3 separate regions of the Homo sapiens genome follow, and all the other regions are linked to region 2. The links are contacts of gene promoters, found by promoter capture Hi-C in blood cells and fetal thymus (Javierre and others, 2016). All regions are on one chromosome and are shown on one strand. The core of a region is centred on a gene start or on the middle of the fragment in contact, and the rest is flanking DNA. Distances in the headings are between cores, read along the strand shown.

What was found. The method cuts DNA at HindIII sites, captures the fragments that hold promoters and counts their contacts. A CHiCAGO score of 5 or more calls a contact.
Region 1: a contact is called between the fragment with the promoter of IMP4 here and the fragment with the promoter of GYPC in region 2, in 1 of 17 cell types (naive CD8 T cells). The highest score is 6.8, in naive CD8 T cells.
Region 3: a contact is called between a fragment that was not itself captured here and the fragment with the promoter of GYPC in region 2, in 1 of 17 cell types (non-activated CD4 T cells). The highest score is 6.9, in non-activated CD4 T cells.

What each region holds. Positions count from the first base shown.
Region 1 is chr2:130,341,431-130,345,315 of GRCh38, forward strand. It overlaps IMP4 (IMP U3 small nucleolar ribonucleoprotein 4), which reads left to right and starts at 1,467. Exons shown (of 9, transcript NM_033416.3): 1 at 1,467-1,505; 2 at 1,656-1,764; 3 at 3,199-3,282. The coding sequence starts at 1,503. It overlaps VMA22 (vacuolar ATPase assembly factor VMA22), which reads right to left and starts at 734. Exons shown (of 5, transcript NM_032357.4): 1 at 585-734; 2 at 411-514; 3 at 237-319. The coding sequence starts at 695. RefSeq lists enhancers at 650-1,199, 1,330-1,499. The HindIII fragment of the contact is 8,635 bases long and covers 400-3,885 here.
Region 2 is chr2:126,654,751-126,658,303 of GRCh38, forward strand. It overlaps GYPC (glycophorin C (Gerbich blood group)), which reads left to right and starts at 1,408. Exons shown (of 4, transcript NM_002101.5): 1 at 1,408-1,562. The coding sequence starts at 1,514. RefSeq lists enhancers at 1,058-1,347, 2,141-2,980, 2,438-2,687, 2,878-3,107 and a silencer at 1,438-1,807. The HindIII fragment of the contact is 9,683 bases long and covers 1-3,553 here.
Region 3 is chr2:130,369,100-130,372,566 of GRCh38, forward strand. PTPN18 (protein tyrosine phosphatase non-receptor type 18) reads left to right here. Exons shown (of 15, transcript NM_014369.4): 6 at 34-102; 7 at 666-728; 8 at 949-1,091; 9 at 1,458-1,524; 10 at 1,606-1,683; 11 at 1,776-1,865; 12 at 2,100-2,188; 13 at 3,158-3,384. Among named protein-coding and RNA genes, the nearest start is that of PTPN18, 15 kb to the left of the region's middle. RefSeq lists an enhancer at 2,731-3,358 and a silencer at 3,085-3,467. The HindIII fragment of the contact is 1,512 bases long and covers 513-2,024 here.

The DNA of each region.
Region 1 (3,885 bases), core at 217-2,716, 3.7 Mb after region 2:
TGTTCAGCTGACTGAAATGTATGTGATTGTAAATCTATTCCCAGTGTAAAGCAACTCACCAACAATTTCTCTACTTCCTATAAAAGTCTAAGGCAAAACCACCCTACAAAAACATTCTGTTCTTCTGCTCTGGGATGCTCTCTCTTATCGCAAAAACCTAATTTAAATCATCTCCATAATTTGCATTTTGTCTTTGACACTGGGAAGGGGTTCTGCAGAAGGAAGAGGGGGCTCACCTGCTTCGCGAGGCCCCACCTCCTCTGGGGCGTGGACACCAGCTCTCACCACCTTGAACTTCTGGAGTCCCTCCTGGGCCTCGCTGAAGGACGAGAAGGGAGGATGGAGCTTTGGCAGCCCGGGCCTAGAACGCGCCCGCCCGCCCACCCAGCCCAGCATGGAAGCTTCCTCACCTGGCGTGGAGGCAGACCTGGGGCTCCATGTGGGAAGCATACTGCAGGGGCCCTACCGACTTGGCGCCCATCGCGTAGCGAGCCTTGGCGAGCGAGAGCCAGCCCTGCAGGGAGAGGAAAGCGGTGAGACTCAGTTTACGCCCGTGTACCCTCCTGCCCGCCCCAGGCGCCTACCTCCTCCACCCGGGCGTTCAACACCGTTCGTTTCCCCTCCAGCTCCTCCAGGTCCCCAAGCAGCTGCAGGACCAGCGAATCCAGCTCCGCTCGCAGGTCAAGCGCCGCCATGGACACACCTCCAGATCTGGAGCCACCTTCTTCCTTGTCACCCTCCGCAGTTTGGCAGGACAGCCAATAGGCACACGAGATCCTCCATCAAGGGGCGTTCCCATCTGGGGATCCCCACGCCGGCAGCACCAAGGCCTCTGGGTCAGCTTCTTTAAGGGCAAGCGCCCTTAGAGAAGCAGCACGGAAGCAACCAATCAACTGGTTTCTCCAATTAGCCCCCAAGTGGATCAGCCTGCTGAACTGTCGGCTAGGGTTATAGGTGGTTCTGAGTCCTTCCGGAAGCTGCCGAATCTTAGAAGTCGCGCCACTGTTGTGGCGATGGAAGAAGGCGAAGCTCTACAGAAACCATTTTGGTTGAGGGAAGAGTGGTTTTAAAGTTAATTTGGAAAGGAGCCGGCAAGCAACCTTCAGTCGGTGTGCGGTTTTTACAGTTGAACTGTTTCCAGCCGCTAATTATGATTGTTTTAGCGGTTCGTCATCTGAAAACTGCATTCTGCACGGCGGTGGTGGGGGGAGGACGAGGATGGAGAAGCCTGGGCGGACATATTTATTAGCTGCGGTCCTAAGTCACGTGTGACATTCTGTATCCAGTCTATCGGTTATCCCAAGGAGAACGCCCTGCCGGAATGGCCAATCGCCTTGAGATGTCCCCGCCCTATTCGCCATCTTAACATAGGGCATTCCCCACAGCTGCAGGCACCAGTGAAGCGTCTAAGGGACCATCTTGGTTGAGGGCGGAAGTGAGGACTGTGTCGCGCTGGAGGAGCCCACAGATTCTCCCGGACCCACGTGGAAGCGGCACTCAAGATGGTAGGAGAATGAGCTCCTGTTTCGGAGGTCCGGGGCGCGTGAAGTGCTGGGGATGTGGCTCTGGGGACTTGGAGGCTCAGCGGCTCCGGGGCTCCGGGGTTCCGGGGCTCGGGAGCGAGTAGTGAGTGACTGGGCCTGCTGTTCCCACAGCTGCGCCGCGAGGCCCGCCTGCGCCGCGAGTACCTGTACCGCAAGGCCCGGGAGGAGGCGCAGCGCTCAGCCCAGGAGAGGAAGGAGCGGCTGCGGCGCGCGCTGGAAGGTAAGGCATCGGCCCCGCGGGCGTCTGCGTGGTAAACCACCCCGGCACGCATTTGTGTTCGAATATCCGAGCGTCTTTCCAAATGCTTGCCGGCCGTTTTCCTTGCCCATTGGGTTCTCCTGTTGGTTTTGAGAGTGTTTCTTCCGTGTGATGGTATTAATTACTTGTCACTGACGTTGCAGTACCCGGGTTTTGCAGCTTGCCCGCTGTGTGCAGTGTGTCAAGTTCGTCCCAAGTTTTAAAGACTTTATCTTGTCCTGTAGAAATTCTCTTTAGAGCGGTGGCTCACTGCTGTAATCCCAGCACTTTGGGAGGCCGAGGCGGGCGGATCATGAGGTCAGGAGTTCGAGCCTGACCAACATGGTGAAATCTCGTCTCTACTAAACATACAAAAATTAGCCGGCCGTGGTGGCACGCGCCTGTAATCCCAGCTACTCAGGAGGCTGAGGCAGGAGAATCGCTTGAACCCGGGAGGCGGAGGTTGCAGTGAGCCGAGATCCTGCCACTGCACTCCAGCCTGGGCAAAAAAGCAAGACTCCGTCTCAAAAAAAAAAAAAAAAAGAAATTCTCTCTAAAGACTATCTGGATAGCGCTGGTGCTGCAGACTGCGCTGCCCATCCTCCCTGCAGGAGTTCCTCTGAGCTCCGTGGGGAACAGTGCTGGCCCCGAGTGCGCACCTGGAGCGCTGTGCTCTGCGGTAGGCAGCCTGTGGTCCAGGGCCCGCTGAAGCCATGCCTTCGAAGCGCTGTGGGCATCGTGACCAACGGTTTTGCTGTCTGAGAGCTTAAAGGTCTCTGGTCCACCATCATACGTACAGAACAGTCTATATTTCTTTTCAAAAGTAATTTTTAAGGCCGAGCGCTGTGGCTCACGCCTGTAATCCCAGCACTTTGGGAGGCCGAAGCGGGTGGATCACGAGGTCAGGAGATCGAGACCATCCTGGCTAACACGGTGAAACCCCGTCTCTACTAAAAATATAAAAAATTAGCCGGGCGCCGTGGCGGGCTCCTGTAGTCCCAGCTACTCGCCAGCCTGAGGCAGGAGAATGGCGTGAACCCAGGAAGCGGAGCTTGCAGTGAGCCGAGATGGCACCACTGCACTGCTCTGCCTGGGTGACAGAGCGAGACTCCGTCTCAAAAAAAAAAAAAATCGATGTTTAGATTTCTACCTGATTATAAAAGCAATACAGTACATTAAGATATTTTAGAAAGTCCTCAAGTCATGAGACTAAAGAAAATGAAGTCCTAGTAACCACTGTTTATGGGGGTTGGCCTGTAGAAAGTTTTGTCACCTCTATCCATGCTTTATCCAAGCTCAGAAAGGGCTGAGGTATTTTTATTTCAAGCATGTGCAGGCTAATAAGCTGTGGTGTATTGGATGAGCTGAGGTCTCCATGCTTGTGACTCACTCAGCCCCTCTCTCTTCCCTCTGCAGAAAACCGCCTGATTCCCACTGAGTTACGCCGAGAGGCTCTGGCCTTACAGGGGTCCCTGGAGTTTGATGATGCTGGAGGTGAAGGTAACTATACAAGGTAGCCCTCCCCAACACTGAGCTGGCAGGTCTCCAGTCCTTCCTCAGACACACCGGGCACCATCCCATCAGAGGAAACTGCTCCTGGAACTGTCCCCCATGCCCTTGTCACTGCACAGATGGCATTGCAGGGCTCTCCCTGAGTGTGCCCTGTCCCACTTACATGGCACACATGGGAGTGCCTCACTGACTCTGCACCTGGCTTGTTAATTACCTCCCCCACTGGAGTGCCTGCTGGGGAAAGACAGTGTCCCTCACACATTATTGGTGCCCATACGTTTATTCACTGCATTATTCAAGAAACAAGAAAGGAATCCCAAACATTATAGATATTTGTTACGAGGGAAAAGAGTTTGTCACCGTTGGCCTTAGCAGAGTGTGGATTTCGTTGTGTAATGGAGTAGCTGCTTAGCCCCATGTGACTAATATAGCTTAAGCAAACTACAATTAAACAAAAGATTCTGTTTCTCAGCCACGCTTGTGCTCAGCAGCCAGAGTAGTTGGAGGCTGCCCTCTTGCCCGGTGTGCATGTGGAGCATTCCTATTGTTGAAGGCTTCGGCAGACAGCGACATCCAGGCGGTCTTGGCTGC
Region 2 (3,553 bases), core at 158-2,657:
GATCACGCCGTTGGACTCCAGCCTGGGCAACAAGAGCAAAAACTCCGTCTCAGAAAAATAAATAAATAAATAAATAAAAATAAATTAATCATTACTCATTGCTGTTTATTAAATGCCTTTTCTGTTCCCACTGTGATTCTACAATCACTGCCTCTGTAAAACCCCGGAATGCAGGTGTTCTTGCCTCCATTTTATAGATGAGGAAATCAAGACTCAGGGCTTCCCCACCAGGCCAAAGGCATTCTGTGAGTAGTTTATTTCAATTCAACATGGCTGTGCTGCACATGGCAGTTGGAGTAAAGATCTATCAGCATCGGGGGTTCTTCATGATCTAACTAAAGTGAATCATGAGTGCTTTCCCACTGCGTCAAGAAGGCCTGGAGTTTGTGCAGCCCGGCTAGAGGTGAGCAAAGCCTCTGTGTTGCAAATCTCCAGGGCGCAGCCTCTCATTGTATTCAATGCAGATGACAGTCCCAAAGGCACCGCCCATACATTGTACAGACAGCTGGCCTGGCTCTCCGGATTGTGCAGGATAGGCCTTAATGGCAGAAGGTAGGGGAGAGGTGGGCGTCACAAAAGTGCTTGGGGAACTATAAAGTAAACAATGAAAAGCAGCACAGGAAGGTTCAGACATCACACAGGAGAAGCACAGGGTGTTCCCCTGGGTGGGGATTTAAAACAAGGGCCTCAAGTTCCCTGCCCTTGTCTCTGGGCAGAAGGGGCAGATAATGCTATGATACATTTTTTGTAGGTGGTGCCATTTGACTGCATTTAACCAACAAAGGTATGTATCGAAATCCACGTGGAGATTTTCATGGCAAAAGTAGAGCGAATTCACAAACTGCACTGTGTCTGGCAGCTTCAGACAAAAGCAATGGGAACAAATCACGACTCTTGTCCAGCAATTCTTCCTGTTTTGGAATGATCTTTGCTCAACAGCCCATCCATGAGTACAGGGCCCCCAAAGGCCAACAAGACAGGGACTCTCTCCAGGGACAAATGCCCCGCAGCTGAGAGAGGCCGCCCAGCTATCCAGCGGCCGCGCAGCCAGCCAAGATTTCAACACAGGTCTGCCCTATTTGGTCACCATCCCCGACAGTGCTGGGCCAGGCCATCATGTCACATTGGGGAGTTTTCCCTGCACTCCAGGGGGAATTCTCAACCACAACCTCTGTATCCGGTAGTGGCAGATGGAAAGAGAAACGGTTAGAAAAGCGTGGTTCTTGCGCAGGAAAGTTGGAGCAAAGAAGAGTTCAGAAGTGGGCGGGTGTGTGTTTAAAAAAAAAAAAGGGGGTGGAAACCCCACCAGCCAAGTCTGCAGAAAAAAAATAAATGAAGTCTGCCTATCTCCGGGCCAGAGCCCCTCCCCTCGGCCCGCGCGGGAGGAGTGTGACCCAGGTGCCGCTTCCTCTCGCCGCCGAGGGTCAGGAGCCCGGGAGCGCGACCCTCCCCCGGCCCGGCCTGGCCCGGCCTGGCCAGTCCCCGCGGTCTCTGCCCGGGCTGACGCCCAGGAATGTGGTCGACGAGAAGCCCCAACAGCACGGCGTGGCCTCTCAGCCTCGGTGAGTACCCGCCGTGGGGAAGGGTCCTGGGGACCCACTGGAGGCCGCGGCCCGCAGCAGCCAGGGGCCGAGCCACGGCCACGGACGCCCTGGTGTCCCGGTCCGTGCCGGGCCTCCAGGCGGAGGAGGCGTCCGCTGGGCTCAGATCCCCGACTCCAGCCCCGGTTCCCCGGCGCCTGGGCTGCGCGGAGTCCCTGTCCCGCGTCCCGGACCCCTACGCGCAGCCTCCACGCGCTCCGAGCTGGAGAAGCCGCCAGCCCGCCCTCCCAGGGCGTGTCGCCCGCTTTCTGTTTCTTTGTGCGGGGCATGTGAAATGTGTGGGGCCAGAATTGTCTCCCTAAAGAACAGTTAGGTGAGAGTTCACATCACAAGTTGCTTCTGTGCTGCTCCCCAGCCAGGGTCCGACCGGCCAGGCTCCGGTGAACTCCAGGCAACTCCAGCCTTGCCCAGGGACTTGCTCGCTCCGCTGGGCGCCGCAAAGGCACACAGATGCGAGGGAATCCTGCGGCCTGGATCCTTTGGGGATTTGTAATTCCTCGCTGCTGGTTTTCTCTTTTAAACCATCACGTTTTCTTGCTGAGAGGAAATCATCTGTGATGAAAGTCTTTGTAGATGCTTGGAAACATTGCTGGGCCTCTCTCTGCCCTCTTCCTCTGCCGTTGGACTTTTGCAATAAAAACTACCATTTGATTTTACCAAAAAACGTAATGTACATCCCTCTTACCCCCACCCTGCCGCGGTCTGATTCTTAGAGTCTGTCAGAGAGGAGATACCCTGAGCCTATCATGTGACAATGATACCTTATTGATATGATAATGATATGGGTATTGGAGACACCAACTCTTTTATAAGTCTTTGAAATCCAGGGGGTTGTGAGGCCTCACCCCTCACCCCGCCTGAGCTTGGAGCTTGGCGTGGAGGAGTGCTGCTTCGGTCTACGTGTGTACACGGCACTCCATGTGCCTGTGGTTGTGCTTGCGTCAGCCTGGGAGTGCGCAGGCATCAGTGGTGCTTGGGAGCGAGGCCCCTCAGTCTGCACTGGGATCATCTGCACTGCCTATAAACAAGGCAGCCTCTCTTAGCTCCAGTTTCCTCATCTGCAAAGTAGGAAAGTAGGAATAATAACAGGAGATAACTCATCCAGCAGCACGAAGTGCGTATAAATGTCCCGGCACGGAGTCTGACACATCCTAAGTGCTGGATCCGTGCTGGGCATGTTTATATAATTGCACATGAGACTGTGGTTCCCGGAGCACGTAACTTGAGCATATGTTTATGTGTGTGTATACGGCAGGTCCTGGGTTAAAGGGACAGGAGCCACTGTCATTATTCCAATTCAGTCACTGAGGAGGTGAGGCTGAGAGGCATTCTCATGTCTGAAGAGGATGGGCTTGCCTGACCCCCGCCCCCGTGCCCAGCCCAGCCCAGCAGCCCAAGCAGTTCTCCAGGACTCAGGTTTCAGACCTTCAACACTTGCCTTGGGAGACAAACAGCGGTGCAGCCCTTGCTTGCAAGCCATTCCACATTAGACTTCGGATTGATTTATGGCAGGATCCCTGCTGTGCGAGAACTGCAGGGGGGGTGGGGGGCGGCTATTTCTTGCTGCTAACTCAGGCAGGATGTGTCTATATCCTGTCTCAGTTTATGTAGCTGCTCATCAGAGCCAGAGGTTAGAGCGGAGAGGACCCACTTCCGCCAGGCCGGCCTGCTCTGCTCAGCTCAGCTGGGCTAGGCCCCAATGCCACAGTTACTGCGCGTGAGTCATGCACAGCAATCCATTGCCTTGCCCTTGGATGGAAGGGGTCAAGGCTCAGTGAGAAGACGGCCAGGTTTGGCAGCTTTATATAGAATTCACCGCCTCTGGCAGAAGCAGAGGATTGCATTAAGTGCCAAATGAAATTCCACCTCAGCCATTGCTCAATTCCTCCAGATGTCACTGGCACTGGGAGTCACATGATGCTGGTGGTCAGCAGCTGGACCCTTCCAAGGGT
Region 3 (3,467 bases), core at 19-2,518, 3.7 Mb after region 2:
CACTCCCTGCCTTTTCTCCCTTACCTTTTGCAGAAAAGGTGTGAGCGGTACTGGGCCCAGGAGCAGGAGCCACTGCAGACTGGGCTTTTCTGCATCACTCTGGTGAGCTGTGGGAGTTTTCAAGGAAGATTCCCAGGGTGGAAAGGCTTTGGGTTGGGCCTAAAAGGTTGAATGATTTAACCCACAGTCCACTCATACTGCAGGAAACCCTCTGGTGTTAGCCTGCAAATAGTTAGAACTTACTATAGGGATAGCCTTTGCATTTTTATTTTGGCTACAATCAGTTAATCTCTGTCATGTAAATGTGCCTGGTTAGGTTGTTGAAATTCTTACTTCTCTTACCATTTCAAAAGAGCTTGGGGAACTCTCTCAAGTCATACATACAGTTAGTACTTAATAAATGCAATAAAAGTTTCATTTTAGAACAAAAGACATCTCTTTTCATTGCAAAAGGGCTTGTGTTTTTATAATAGTTCCTCTTTTGCTCCTGTGTCAAATGTTTCCTTAATGAAAGCTTTGGGGAAAGTTTGGGCTATATGAATTTTTAAAATGTTTTCTGTATTTGATTTTTTAATCAGGAATGCTTTGCTTTCTATAAATGTCTTCTGGTACCTATGATCTTTGTTCTCCTCCCTCTTCTTACTTGCCCCACCCCCCTTACTCAGATAAAGGAGAAGTGGCTGAATGAGGACATCATGCTCAGGACCCTCAAGGTCACATTCCAGAAGGTACTGTGACAGGGGAGGAGGAGGTAAAGGGGCTCCTGAAAGGGGAGAGGTTTCCTCTCCTGTAAAAATGGGCATCATACTAGTACCCACTTCCTCAGTTATTGTCTGGTAGACATAAATGGAAGATGCCTAGAAGTGGGCCTGGTGTATAGTAGATGGCCAATTAATGCTTTTTTCTTTTTTTTCCTAAGTCTTTTGCTCATCTTTTTCTGTGTTTCAGGAGTCCCGTTCTGTGTACCAGCTACAGTATATGTCCTGGCCAGACCGTGGGGTCCCCAGCAGTCCTGACCACATGCTCGCCATGGTGGAGGAAGCCCGTCGCCTCCAGGGATCTGGCCCTGAACCCCTCTGTGTCCACTGCAGGTTTTGGAAATGGGCTTCAGGAGGGTCTGGTGAGGCAGAGGGGACAGAGCATGGAGGGGAGTACAGGGCATGGGGCTAGTCTTGTAGTCTGAGTGCCTATTTTGAGAACCCTTGCTCACCCTCCATGGACTGTAATTGTGAGCACTTGTTCAGCACAGACTCAGCTGGGGAATAAGCACACAGCTCTTGCTCAACAAAATGTAAGTGATTAAAAAGGTTTTCCTTGTTCAGATATAATCTGAAGATTCTGGGAATCAAGAGGCTCTGCAGGGGATCCATCAGGACCCTCACCCCCATCCCCAAATGCCCCATCTAAAAGGGGTTGTGGTCAGGACCTGACCAGGCACACTCTGATTCTCTTGTCAGTGCGGGTTGTGGGCGAACAGGCGTCCTGTGCACCGTGGATTATGTGAGGCAGCTGCTCCTGACCCAGGTACGATACAGGCATCCTGTGTGTGCAGTGTGCTGCCCATGACCACGTGTCCTGCTCAAGTGCCTTGTCTGTCTGCCCCAGATGATCCCACCTGACTTCAGTCTCTTTGATGTGGTCCTTAAGATGAGGAAGCAGCGGCCTGCGGCCGTGCAGACAGAGGTGAACCCTGGGTCTCCTAATCTTCAGGGACAGTGGCCCACTGCTGTCATTTGCCCCTGCCTTCCCTTCTTGATGGTCCCTCACCCCAACAGGAGCAGTACAGGTTCCTGTACCACACGGTGGCTCAGATGTTCTGCTCCACACTCCAGAATGCCAGCCCCCACTACCAGAACATCAAAGAGGTACAGAGGCTCCTTTCCCACTCTCCTGTCCACCATCAGCACCCTCAGAGACCAGGACCCCGAGCAGGGTCCAGCCCCCGGGACTACTGGGAGCAGGCACTGACTATGACATCCACCTGTGCCCTCCTCCAGGCATCCTTATCAGGCTCTCCCATCTTAAGCTTTCTCCCAGAGCCCCTTGAGAGGCCTGGCCAGCTTCCTCCCTCAGGAGCCTCCCCTCCTGTTTTTCTTCAGAATTGTGCCCCACTCTACGACGATGCCCTCTTCCTCCGGACTCCCCAGGCACTTCTCGCCATACCCCGCCCACCAGGAGGGGTCCTCAGGTACCCGGCTCCATCCCCGGATTCTTCCCTGCCCAATTTCTCAGGCTAACCCCTTCTTCATCCTTGGAACACCAGTCCGTTCCTTGTTCACTTCGCCAAGTGTTCGCTGGCCCTTTCTTCGAATTGAGCTCTGGGAACCCACCCCAAGATGATTCAATTATCCCAAGATGATTCATTTACCCCTTGCCTCTGCCTCTAAGGCTTGCCCTGCCTTCTGAGTTAGGCCTTTCCTGGATCCTCTAATCAAACCTTAATTCAGGTGGCTCACCCCTGTAATCCCAGCACTTCGGGAGGCCAAGGAGGGCGGATCACTTGAGCCCAGCTGGAGACCAGCCTGGTTAACATGGTGAAACCCTGTCTCTACTAAAAATACAAAAATTAGCCAGGCGTGCTGGTGAGAGCCTGTAATCCCAGCTACTCCGGAGGCTGAGGCAGGAGAGTCGCTTGAGCCCGGGAGGTGGAGGTTGCAGTAAGCCGAGATCGCACCACGGCAGTCCAGCCTGGGCGACAGAGCGAGATCCTGTCTCAAAAAAACAACAAAAAAAATTCAGCAAATAATTCTAGACGCCGCCTTCTTGTCAGGCCGCACGTTGGGTGCTGCGGACATGGGATTGAGCCGCCTTCGCAGCGGAGACTTAAGGCCCTTGTCCTTGCGGCCATCCCTTCCTGTCTTCTATGCCACTTCCGCATTCTTTTGTTCAGTAGACGTTGACACAGAAATGACCACCCCTCAAACCAACACTCTGCCCCAAATTACCCTCCAGGCTGACCCCGTTCCTCCTTCATCCCCCTAACTTGCAGGGCGCTAGGGACACAGAAGCGAGGCCTCCAACCCAAGGAGCCCTCCCTCCCATCTAGCGCACCGCCTCGGCGGGAAGGAAGCCCGTGGTTTGCGCGCTGAGCAGCCTCCCCACTCCCGCCCTGCCCAGCGCCGCCGTTTCACTTCCTCCCGGCCCTCCCTGCCTGCAGGAGCATCTCTGTGCCCGGGTCCCCGGGCCACGCCATGGCTGACACCTACGCGGTGGTGCAGAAGCGCGGGGCTCCAGCGGGCGCCGGGAGTGGGACGCAGACGGGGACGGGGACGGGGACGGGGGCGCGCAGCGCGGAGGAGGCGCCGCTCTACAGCAAGGTGACGCCGCGCGCCCAGCGACCCGGGGCGCACGCGGAGGACGCGAGGGGGACGCTGCCTGGCCGCGGTGAGTCGAGGCTTGCTCCTTCTCAGGGCATCATCCTGCTGTGATCCGCAGGGCGGAACCATCCTGCAGTGGTCCGTCAGGCC